2 separate regions of the Homo sapiens genome follow, and region 1 is linked to region 2. Evidence: promoter capture Hi-C in 16 types of primary human blood cells and fetal thymus (Javierre and others, 2016). All regions are on one chromosome and are shown on one strand. Each heading gives the region's core, a stretch centred on a gene start or on the middle of the fragment in contact. The rest is flanking DNA. Distances are from core to core; before and after follow the strand shown. Region 1 overlaps LOC107984515 (a long non-coding RNA gene). Region 2 holds the start of OR9K2 (olfactory receptor family 9 subfamily K member 2).

Region 1 (6,763 bases), core at 1,848-4,347, 130 kb before region 2:
AGATGGAATCTCGCTCTGGCTCCTAGGCTAGAGTACAGTGGTGCGATCTCAGCTCACTGCAACCTGTGCTTCCTGGGTTCAAGCAAATCTCCTGCCTCAGCCTTCCGAGTAGCTGGGATTACAGGCGCCTGCCACCACACCCAACTAATTTTTGTATTTTTAGTAGAAACGGGGTCTCACCATGTTGGCCAGGCTGGTCTCGAACTCCTGACCTCAAGTGATCTGTCCGCCTCAGCCTCTCAAAGTGCTGGGATTACAGGTGTGAGCCACCGCACCCAGCCTAGGCCTTCCTTTTGTCTGGGACTCTGGTACCCAAGTTCTGACCTGCTCCAGGTAATCTTTTAACCTTGAGTCTAGCACATACGAATCTTGGTAGATTGGTGATGTCCTCCTATCAGGCCAGTGCAGCCCAGGCTCAGATCACACATTTTGGATGGATTTGTTCCTTTGGGCAGATTCCCTTGTGCAAGGAACAACCAGCACAATCATAAGTGCAGAGACCTAACAGCTCTGGATTAAATTTGGAAAACATTAGAATATGGGAGAAAAGAAACATACATTAAGCTCTTCCAACTCACCCATCTCTCTTCTGGTTGTTTCTCTGTACATCCTCTCGTGTAAATCTCACAGCAACCCTTCAAGGCAGGCACTAGCATTCCAATTATACAGATGAAGAAACTGAGGTTCAGGAGTCTCTGTAGAAGGCCACGATTTAAAGCTTGATGTCTCTGATTCTGAAACCTATATGCATTATATACGCTACTTTATAATCCATTGATTGCAGTGACAATACTAACATTGGCTTGTCACTGACATACCAGCTTTTTAAATACACATTTTCCTCACATTCTCATGACAAGTTGTGGGAAATGGAGAGCAGATGCCAATTGTCTCATTTGACAGATGAAAATCAATGCCCACACAGCTAGTGGGAAAATCAAGCCTTTTGACTTTTAGTCAAGAGATCTGTGTAATTTTATCATGTGCCCTTTTAGGGCACGTGTGGATTTAGAGGAGTGAGGGAGAAGAGATAAGGAGAGAAATCTGTAGGGGTGGAGGACATCAGCAGGAGGAAATCTGTACAATCAAGATGGTTTCCTGAACGTGAGCTGTGGGGCTGCCCAGTGATGCCCGCAGGCTTCAGGATGCAGGACACATCTGCACCCCTGGTTCCTCTTGCCAGAGCCCAGGAGATTGGCAGGAACCCTAGGGAAGACCCAGTTCTGGGTGCAGGGCAGATGCTGAGCAGCTGAGCAAGCAGAACTCTGCAGGCGGGCGTTGGGGGTTCTCCTCTAGCTAACTTGGGTTTCCAGAGGCCTGAGAGCACAGCTTCCATATCTTCCTCCTTTGGGAGGAGGAAAGCTGGCTTCTCTTGCCTCTGACTCCCAGTGGTTCTCAAGGCCCCAGTGGGAGGTATTTGCCTGGGAAAAACAGAGCTGAAAGAGCAACAGAACCTCAAAGTATGAAGGAAAAGGAGAAACTGGCTTCTCCTCTGCTTTTTCTTAGAAGACAAGAGGCAGTTAGGGTAGGGCCAGAATGATTTTGCGAGTCCTTGAAGGGGAGAGGAAAGGTTAAAAGCCACAGGGAAAATTAACTCTGAGGGTAAAGAAAAGGATCCCCAGTGTATCCCTACATGTCTACCTACTCTCTGCAATAACAGACAGACATCTGAGTGGGACTGGCTTATGTTTGTCATAAAGAAAGATTTCTATGGATCTCCAAGATTTTCTGACAACGGGAGGGATGCGATGATGCCTGGAGGGGCCGTGTGTTCCATAGGGAGGCAGTGACTAGAGAATGGCCTGTCTGGGTTTGACTCCCTGCTCTGTCATTAACCTGCTATTTGAATTTGGGCAAGTTACACATCCTTGAAGCCTTCGCCTTCTCATGTAACACGAGACGATCATAGTGGCGACCTCAAAGTGATGTGCAAGTGAAATGAGGGAGTATGTAAAGCTTAGTATATCATCTAGTACTTAAGAAAGGAGCAGAGACTTTAGCTGTTGTCACATTTGTCACTTACAGTGAAAGAGCATTGGGTTGAGGGTGAGGAAACCTGGTTTCTATTTGTTTCTTTCTGTATATCCAGCTCTTTCCTCGGCAAACAATATCTTCTTCTTTTCCCCCATATGTCCTCTGGTAAAGAGACAGTATTGCATAAGATCCAAATTCTATTTTAACTTCTGATAGTAACTCACATTTTGAGCAAATGCAAATTACTTTACCACTCTGAGCCTCAGTTTCCCCATATATAAATGGAGAGGATAATAGCTATTTGGAGTTGTGGATTATTAGCACAGTGTTTAGAGTCAGACAAGCCTGGATTTGAATCATACCTTCAAAACTTACTAGCTATGTGACTGTGGGCATTTTACTTAAAGTCTCTGAGCCTCAGTTTCCTCAATTGTTACATGAGGATTATAACACCTAACACTTTTGTTGAGCTTGGCAAGGACTACTTAAGACAGTAAGTGTAAGCTGCTTAACCTAGAGCCCAGCTGAAAGTAAGTACCCTGGCAGCAAATTTGTACCTGGTAGCTTTCCTGTATGAACGAATGAAATCACCTAAGAAGTATTCTTTTAATCACATCTCTTCTGCCTGAAACAAAAAGGAGATAATACATGTGCAAATTTCATGTCTTCATTCTGCTTCCCCCATTTAGATTGATCCTCTGAAAAAGTATCTAAGGATATTTGTCCCAAATTCAGCCATAACCTGCTCCAACATCCCCCATCTATTCCCTCCAGGGTAACTCACAAAGCCCATCCATCAACTCTCAAGCTCACCTTTGTCATGCAGAGTGGACCAGCCTGGAGCTACGAATCCCCCTCCCCCAACACCCAACATCCCAACACACACACACACACATATATATACTGCACACTAATTTCTCAAAAGCCAAATTAAAGTCACCGTCCATCCACTGCCAGAAGCCCCTTTCCTCTTCCTTACTCCCAAAGGAATCCTCGCCCTCCATAGACATCACCCTCCCCCCAGCTCCATCCTCTATCACAGACACACACTGGTCACCATCCCACTTCTCCTCCCCTTCTCTATTGCTCAGTAATTATATTCTCCGCCTCCCAGTGTCATGCTAATATAAGCTCCTGGCACAGCTGCCCAGATTAAATTAGAGCCCAAACCAGCAGGCTGACTAATTATATTTTCTGGGATGGAATTGTCTTCCCCCACCTTTGGGGTACAGGGCCAATAAAAAGTAAATGAGCACTGCCAATATTTGCAGAGGATATTTGACTCTTCTTGCCTGGGTGGTTTTGTCTTCCCCAACCAATCTGGGCCCTTGAATTAGATTACACCAGAATGGGAGAAGAGAGTTTTACTCAAATGACCCTTCTAAGTCCCATCCATTGTCCTGCAGGTCAGCTCAGCTGGGCCTGACCACCACCATCAGGCCAAGGAAGAGAACATAGCATGAAACTCTTTCTCGTGAATGAGACTCTTCTGCTACCTTTGTGAGTCCCTCCCTTGTTCCCAGCACCAAAATCTTTCCTTCAGATACTCACTGCAACCTGTCCTGAAATGATTGTTGCTGAATTCTTTTTACTTCTGTCTCATGTGAAAAAGAGTGTTGCTTCCCTTACAGAACACTGTTTCAAGGCTGATTCTTCAACTTTTACCTTTCCTTATTTATGGCTGGAACAACATAAAAGTTTCAATTGTGAAAAGAAATATTTTAGACAAGTTAAGTTTAACAGAGTTTAATAGATTTTTTAATTAAATTTCTTTTTCTTTTTGCAGAGACAGGGTCTTGCTATCTTGTCCAGGCTGGTCTCAAAATCCTGGGCTCAAGCAATGCTCCTCCTTTGACCTCTCAAAATGCTGGAATTACAGGTGTGTGGCATTGTGCTGGCCAACAGAGTTTAATTGAACAAGAAAAAAAAAGATTCATGAATTGGGCAGCCCCCAGAATCACAGCAGATTCAGAGAGGCTCCAGGGATGCCTGGCGGTCAGAGTGAGTTTATGGACCAAAAAAGGAAAGTGATTTACATAAAACGGAAGTGATGTACGGAAATAGCTAGGCTGGTTACAGCTTGGCATTTTGCCTTACTTAAACATGGTTTAAACAACAGCCTGTGAATGGCTGGAGTATGGCTACTGGGATTGGCTGAGACTCAGCTTTTGTTACAGAAGTATACTCCTCAGTTAGATTTCCACCCTGCCTACCTACTAAGTTCGGTTATGGTTCATCCATAAGGACTTAAGTATGAAAGTACGGAAGCTTTCCAAGCCCAGGTTTTAGTTTGATGTAAAACAATTTCCCTAGAGACAAGGTTTACTTAATTTCTTGATTCCACAAACATTTATTGCTCACTTGCCATATGCCACATACTGAGATGGGTATTGAAACATGTAAAGGCATAATTCTTGCCTTCAGAAAGATCAGGACCTCATGATGGGTCTAAATGTGTGTAGATGTGCAGAAATCAAGAAATCTGTGCAAGGCGCAGTGGCAACACAAGAGGCTTGCAATAAGAATCAGAAAAGGCATCAATGACGAGGTGATTCTTGGTGAGGTTTTGAAAAATTGTTCAGAAGGCCAATAAAATAAGGATAGGAATTCTGGGTAGAGAGAGAAAAGATATAGGGACAAGAAAGTCATAGCAATTTCATGACCTGCACGCATAAAGGATAAGACGAAAGGAGTAGCCAGAGATGGCCTTGAACAGCTGACGGATGTTTTACTTCTGGAGTTTTCTGGACCCCAAATTCATGTCCTCCTAACTGAGGGAGAGCAGATCTGCCTCTTAAAGGTCTGGGCAACCCCCGTTAGGGCCCTTTCTTTTGCCACCAACTTTCCTCTCAAATTTGCCTACAATGATCCCTCCCACAAATAATTGTTCCATTTTTGTGTGACTACTTCCTTTGGAAGTGCATTTAAGGAAGAATCTGATATTTCAAAGCATTGAAGGAAAAATTTCTGGTAGTAGAATTTCTAAAAACAAAAGAAAACCTCTGACTGGATCTCTGATGTTCTTCCATATACTCAGCAACCTTCTCTGCCTCTTTATTCATTCATTTGATCATTTAGTGCCAAGTTTTCAGCACCTTACCAAGCACTGCTCTAGAGATGATCCAGGGTAGAAGAAAAGGAGAGTCTTTCCCCTGCAGGAACTCAGTCTAGAGAAAGAGAGACAGATGCATAGATAATTAGAAGTTGCAATGAGAGCTCAGAGGAGGGGCATTGTGTTTGTTTCCAGTCACTGCCATTAACAAAGTACTGGAAATTGAGTGGTGTTTATTGTAGGGTAGCAGCCTGAAATCAAGGTATCAGCTGGCCACATTCCATGAAGCTTATAGGGGAATTCTCCCTTGTCTTCTCCTAGATTCTGGTGGTGTGCCGGCAATCTTTGGCATTCCTACTCCTGTAGATGCAATACTCCAAATCTCTGTCTTCACATGGAGTTCTTTGTGTGTGTTTTTGTCTTCACATAGTCACCTCCTTTTTTTTTTTTTTAAGATGGAGTCTCACTCTGTTGCCCAAGCTGGAGTGCAAAGGTGCCATCTCAGCTCACTGCAACCTCTGCCTCCCGGGTTCAAGCGATTCTCCTGCCTCAGCCTCCTGAGTAGCTGGGATTACAGGCCCGCGCTACCACACCCTGCTAATTTTTGTATTTTTAGTAGAGATGTGGTTTCACCATTTTGGTCAGGCTGGTTTCAAACTCCTGACCTTGTGATCTGCCTGTCTCGCCCTCCCAAAGTGCTGGGATTACAGGCATGAGCCACCACACCCGGCTCATAGTCGCCTTCTTATAAGGACAACAGTCATATTGGATTAGGGTCCACCCCGCTCAAGTATAACTTCACCATCATTTAACTAATTACACCTGCCATCGCCCAGTTTCCTAATAAGGTCACATTCTGAGGTTCTCATTAGGATTTCAAAGTATCTTTTTTGGGGGAAACACAATTCCACTTGTAATGGGCACCTAATTTTTCATAGGTGTATCAAGAATATTCTTAGAAGCAGGAATGATTGAAGTAAGTGTTTATTCCAGAGAGTCAAGTAAAAATGAACTAAAACAGTGATTTAGAGAGAAATGGTCCCATGGAGGAAATGACATGAGAAGAGACACGTGAGTGTATAGAAAAGGCACAAATAGACCAGGGCAGCGTGAAGAACTTCCTGTAGCTGTAGTATACAGTATTCAAAAACAAAGTGGTGAATGTTGGGATGTGAGAAAGGCATGCAGATCAGATAGTTACGGGCTTGGTAGCTGTTTTATCCTGGTATCAGTTGAGACCATTTCTTACTTATGGACTTGGGATTTACTGCCCTGACACCACTGAAAAGCAGGAGGCTGAGCAGTTAGTAAGTGTGATGTGGGAAAGGGGAAGTGGGAGACAGCTCTGTCCTCAGCAGCTGCAGTGGTCCCCCTGCTCCCCTCCTTCCCTTCCAGAGTAGGCACAGCCATCATCACTGGACTTTCCTGTGAAATGTAAATCCCATCAGAAAGAGACTCTGTTGTATTCATCCATATATTCTCAGCACAACAGCTGGCCCAGTGTACACACTGAATTTAGATTGGTCGAATGAATGAATAGATGGAAAAGTACATTTAGCTCAGCAAGACCCTGAGCAGGCCCTGCTGACCAAGTAATGCACCTAGGCGGATGCCATTTACGCATCCTGGTGCCTGCTTTACTTCTCTTTGCTTCTCTGTCTTTAAGATTCCATCAGGGAAGGTCTTTCAAGTGATAAAGAAAGACTCGCAGAAGTCTCTAGTAATCTGTGTTTACTA
Region 2 (6,212 bases), core at 862-3,361:
TATATGAAACAATTACAGGTCCAAGTACAAGGAGTCAAAATGGGATTGTCAGCCACCACTGTAAAACCTATCAACTCACTCTCAATTTTTTTTTGCTGGATGCTTGCATGACATTTGTCCCTGCTGAATGAATATTCTTACTGCTTAACGGAGAGATAATTTTACTAGGGGAACACAACAATTGATAAAATGAGCTCTAAATTCAGTCTCCTTACTGAATTTACATTCATTTTGCTGAACCAACTGAGAGGTGAAGCTGGCTGGGCTTCTGGGTGGGGTGGGGACTTGGAGAGCTTTTCTGTTTAGCTAAAGGATTGTAAACACACCAATCAGCACTCTGTGTCTAGGTAAAGGTTTGTAAATGCACCAATCAGCACTCTGTAAAAACGGACCAATCAGCACTCTGAAAAATGGACCAATCGGTGCTCTGTAAAATGGACCAATCAGCAGGACGTGGGTGAGGACAAATAAGGGGATAAAAGCAACCCACTAGATTCCCCTTCCACCCTGTGGAAGCTTTGTTTTTCAGCTTAGCAACAAATCTTGCTGCTGCTCACTCTTTGGGGCCCTGCTGCCCTTATGAGCTGTAAAATTCACCACCAAGGTCTGCAGCTTCACTCCTGAAGCAAGCCAGACTACAAACCCACCCGAAGAAAGAACAGCTCTGGAGGTGCCACCTTTATGAGCTGTAACACTCATTGCAAAGGTCTGAAGCTTCACTCCTTTTTGTTTTTTTTCTTTTCTTTTTTTGTTTTTGTTTTTTAATTATTATTAGACTTTAAGTTCTAGGGTACATGTGCGCAACGTGCAGGTGTGTTACATATGTATACATGTGCCATGTTGGTGTGCTACACCCATTAACTCATCATTTACATTAGGTATATCTCCTAATGCTATCTGTCCCCCCCCGCCACCTCAGGACAGGCCCCGGTGTCTGATGTTCCCCACCCTGTGTCCAAGTGTTGTAGTTGTTCAATTCCCACCTATGAGTGAGAACGTGCGGTGTTTGGTTTTCTGTCCTTGCCATAGTTTGCTGAGACTGATGGTTTCCAGCTTCATCCGTGTCCCAACAAAGGACATGAACTCATCCTTTTTTATGACTGCATAGTATCCCATGGTGTATATGTGCCACATTTTCTTAATCCAGTCTATCATTGTTGGACATTTGGGTTGGTTCCAAGTCAGCGAGACCACAAACCCACCGGGAGGAACGAACAACTCCAGACATGCCACCTTTAAGAGATTTTAAGAGCTGTAACTCACTTTTGAAGTCAGTGAGACCACAAACCCACCAGAAGGAAGAAACTCTGGACACATCTAAATATCTGAAGGAACAAACTCCGGACACACCACCTTTAAGAACTTTAACACTCACCGGAAGGAACCAACAGTTCTTTAAATTATTTTGAACTATATACAGGGACTGATGAGAAGTTACTAACTTAATACATGACACCTGAATAAACAACTTTAAAGCAATTAAAATTACAATATAAACCCAACTTTAGATCCAGTTAATCATGTGGCCTTTACTTGATGGATTAGAGGGCGTTTGTTGGATTTTTGCCCATATCATGGTCGTGCTGTTCTATCTTTCTTCTCAATTACTATTGAGAAAATATAGTTTAAAAAGTCATCAAGGAGAGATTTGGGTGAATAGAATTCTGAAAGTAAATATGAAATTAACTTTATGATTAGGACTCAAAATTTTCCTACAAATGGCATTATGAACCACAACATTTCCTTTCGTATCTATTTCTACTTGCTTATCAAAAACTGTGCTATAATGATAAATTGAAAATGCTGCTTTTTCAGTGAAGAAATTAAAATTAAAAGATCCTTGTGATTTTTCCTAAAGAATGTCTCATATGTACTTTAAGTACTCTTAGGCTTTTTAAAAAAATATAGAATCTCTGAGGTCTTCATGGATCTTGCTTTTAGATCCTAGAAGTCTTACTAATTAATTGACTTGTGTTCTTCTCTCCCAGAGGTACTGTCTCCCAGAACATAGAGGAAATCTCAATACTGTAATTATATGAAAAAGCTGTAGCAAAACCGAAGCCCTCGTGGATAACTGCTGTTGATATTTTGGCAGTATTCAGAGATGCCAAAGAGCTCAGGACCTCTACTTGCATATCCATGGCAATCTATCCTCTTGCCTTGAAAGCATACAAGTTTCTGAGAATTCAGGATAGATAATATCTTGTGGATTGATTCCTCAGGTTCACTTTGCTTATCTATAGATTTTTGTTCCTGGAATCACTTCAGTTTTGGCAGAACATGATTTGAAAAATTCACCTTGACTCTCTTCTAAAAAGGACTATAAAACTTTTCAGGAAATCAACTACTGAAAAAAAGACTTTTTAAAATAGAGCAATGAGGCACATAAGCCACATTTATCTATGGGAAGAATCTAAAACTGTAATAATAAATGTGGATTTGTGGGGAATGATTCATTTTATTTCAAAGTAATTATTTTTCAGTATTTATAATTATGACAGTCATTAATTAACTTTATGTTTATCCTTTCTAGAATTAAAACAATAAACAGAGGAAAACATTGGAACTCTGCTGATTGATTTTTACCAGAATCTGACCAGTTACTAAACAATACAAGGTAAAAGTAACTTAAAACCTGTAAGTTTTTGAAAAATAAGTCACAAACTGACTACTTGTTGTTGGCTTCTGCGGGAATAACTCCCTTTTCCAGGTAAAAAATGTCATCAGCAATGCATTTATTAACATTTATAATGTTACAATGTTTATAACATTTATGATATAAATTTATTTTAATAAGTTTGTTTTTTTATATTCTCTGATTCCACATACTCATTATCATTCAGCTTTTTTCTACGTAATAATATGTATTGAATTATTGTCATTCACTAGATTCAGAACATTATGTTGACAATACGCAGCAAACAAGCTGAGTTTGATGTTAAGGATATTATTGTCAAGTGAGGAATAATTACTATTAATAATAATATTAAATTCTAATGTTGAAATGAGTTTGATAGAAATAAATCTTAGAAATTAAAATAATCTGTTTTGCTTCTAGATGAGAATAAAATGAAGATAAATTATATATATTATTTTTCAAAAAATGATTTTTCATGCTGACTTCAGTCAGCTTTCTTTCACTTCTTAAATGTCTCACATCTTTCCAGACCCTAAGTGCAATCTAATGTAAGCTCTTACTACTTCTTAATTACTTACATATTTAATTTTTGATAAAATGGGTGAATATTTTATTTTCAACATTTAATACAGTCTTAAATAATGATAACATCTTATTCAGCTTTTCTCTTAATAATCTTTTTTCTCAGGCAAAATATTCCATTTCTCCAAGAGTTCTTCATCTCTCTAAACTTTTAACAGATTGATTCTTCCCCTCAACTGAGAATGTTTTGTCCAAAAACGACCATATATATTATTGGTTTTCAACCTAATAAGCACTATTTGGTATGAATAGTGGGACTGAGCACTGAAACGTATAATAAAAATAATGGCTAACATTTACTGAATACTTAGTTTACCATAAATGGTGCTAAGTGATTTACATACGTATGTCATTTTCTATTCCCAAGAAAACTTTGAGGACTCTTATTTCCACTTTATATATGAGAATACAGTAGCATAGAGAGAGAGCATAAGTAACTTGTCCAAGATCCCATTTAGAAAGTGAGAGAAGCAGAACTGGAGCCTAGATTTATTTAAACCTAAAACCCATACTAACCACTGCAGTATTGGATGGATAGTTTTTATATTTTTCTCTGTTTCTGCATGATCATTATCATTCAACTTTTATCTATAGTAAATATGTATTAACTGCCATTTACCAGACACATAACGTTATGCTGACAATATATGGAGAACAAATTGAATTTTGTCTTAAGTTATTGTCAAGTGAAGAATAATTAATATGTAACCTCAATATTAAAATATGGTGGCAGTTGGTCTCTTCAAATTATCTTTGGATGAGATGTTTTGACCCAGGTTGAAGAATTAGAGATTTTATTTGGAAATATGAAATTTTAACTACACTCTAAAGTACAAGCAGAAGTAAGGTAGGGGAACAGGAAGGGTCCTTTATTTAAAGTTGATATAGTACAGTGATTAATCATTAATGATGATTAAAAGCATGGATTCTGGAGCCAGTTTTCCTGGCTTCAAATCTTGATTCTGACTCAAGTAAGTGAATTTCAGCAGACTTCATTTCTCTGTACCTCAATTTACTCATCTGTAAACTTGGGAATATAATAATAACCACCTAATGTTATTATTGAATGGATTAAATGAGCTACTATGAAAGCATTTAGAAAAGTGTCTGGCACATAAAAAGTGCCATATACATATTTGTTATTATTGTTGCCTAGACAGAATCATGCACATAAAGCCCTTAGGACAGAGAAAGAGTGGCTTGTATTGTTAACATACGAAGTTAAAAAATCTATTTGAGCAGTAATGAGTTAATAATGGCTACAAAAGTTGTATTCAGGGCAAATAAAAGTGTAATCAGCAATGCCCCCATATGTATCCTTTGCAGTATTAATTCCTAAAGTAACTCTTTTATCTGTGGAAGAGTTCTACTGTAGATCTCTTTTTAAAGAACTGCAAGTCACATGGACACATAGAGGGGAAAAACACACACTGGAGCCTTTTGCAGGGTGGAAGGTGGGAGGAGGGAGAGGATCAGGAAAAATAACTAATGGGTACTAGGCTTAATACCCTGGTGATTAAATGATCTGTACAGCAAAACCCCATGACACAAGTTTACCTATGTGACAAACGTGCACTTGCACCCCTGAACTTAGAAGTTAAAGATCTCCAAGTCTTGGGATCAAGAAATGAAGGGAAGTTTTCTTTATGAAAGTGCTTTGATGGCCCATCTGGGACAGAAATTCTTGAATATGAGTAGTAATAATTTTGTGCTTGGTTGCACACACCTTTTATCTTAGTGGGTACATAACTTCCATCAGAATCCAGTTTCCATGACTTGTGAAAGGTAATTGCACTTCTCAAGTAGGTTTTTTTTTTTAACTCAGTCACTTCCTTTATATTTGTTGGTACTCCAAATTAAGTCTCTGTTTTCCTAAACTTGGCTACTAAAACCCCAAATATCTCCCAACCCAAACTAACTAATGTGCTTCCCAAAGTCGTTTTTAAAATTAATTGTGCTCTCTTCCAGTCACTGCTTCATGATGTTGAAGTTATTGTGTGAATCATGAGTGGGAAATGTATAAAGAAGTGATACTTGGAAATGTGAAAGGCATTTGGGTAGAAAGGCATTGTATTAGATGCAGAGGCAAAAAACCTAACTCTAACACTTAAAGAAATAAGAAATGCAACTAATCTTTGGTTTCAACAGCAATTGATTGGCTTTAAGTCACAGTATACTTATGAGGCAAAAATTAATAATAACATTAATTTAAAAATAGCTTTGTAAATCCTAATACCATAAGAGATTATTTGTAATGCTAGGATCCAAACCAAGAGTTCATTTGTATATTTTGCCCTGTGCCTCTCAACAGGTTTCTACCATGGGTGACAGGGGAACAAGCAATCACTCAGAAATGACTGACTTCATTCTTGCAGGCTTCAGGGTACGCCCAGAGCTCCACATTCTCCTCTTCCTGCTATTTTTGTTTGTTTATGCCATGATCCTTCTAGGGAATGTTGGGATGATGACCATTATTATGACTGATCCTCGGCTGAACACACCAATGTATTTTTTCCTAGGCAATCTCTCCTTCATTGATCTTTTCTATTCATCTGTTATTGAACCCAAGGCTATGATCAACTTCTGGTCTGAAAACAAGTCTATCTCCTTTGCAGGCTGTGTGGCCCAGCTCTTTCTCTTTGCCCTCCTCATTGTGACTGAGGGATTTCTCCTGGCGGCCATGGCTTATGACCGCTTTATTGCCATCTGCAACCCTCTGCTCTACTCTGTTCAAATGTCCACACGTCTGTGTACTCAGTTGGTGGCTGGTTCCTATTTTTGTGGCTGCATTAGCTCAGTTATTCAGACTAGCATGACATTTACTTTATCTTTTTGCGCTTCTCGGGCTGTTGACCACTTTTACTGTGATTCTCGCCCACTTCAGAGACTGTCTTGTTCTGATCTCTTTATCCATAGAATGATATCTTTTTCCTTATCATGTATTATTATCTTGCCTACTATCATAGTCATTATAGTATCTTACATGTATATT

The links. The method cuts DNA at HindIII sites, captures the fragments that hold promoters and counts their contacts. A CHiCAGO score of 5 or more calls a contact.
Region 1: a contact is called between a fragment that was not itself captured here and the fragment with the promoter of OR9K2 in region 2, in 2 of 17 cell types (naive B cells and endothelial precursors). The highest score is 6.2, in naive B cells.

Annotation. Positions count from the first base shown.
Region 1 is chr12:54,995,268-55,002,030 of GRCh38, forward strand. All of the region lies in intron 1 of LOC107984515 (a long non-coding RNA gene), which reads left to right. Among named protein-coding and RNA genes, the nearest start is that of TESPA1, 14 kb to the left of the region's middle. RefSeq lists a silencer at 6,068-6,117 and an enhancer at 6,218-6,407. The HindIII fragment of the contact is 2,286 bases long and covers 1,955-4,240 here.
Region 2 is chr12:55,124,295-55,130,506 of GRCh38, forward strand. It overlaps OR9K2 (olfactory receptor family 9 subfamily K member 2), which reads left to right and starts at 2,112. Exons shown (of 3, transcript NM_001005243.2): 1 at 2,112-2,222; 2 at 2,534-2,617; 3 at 5,532-6,212. The coding sequence starts at 5,541. The HindIII fragment of the contact is 7,142 bases long and covers 713-6,212 here.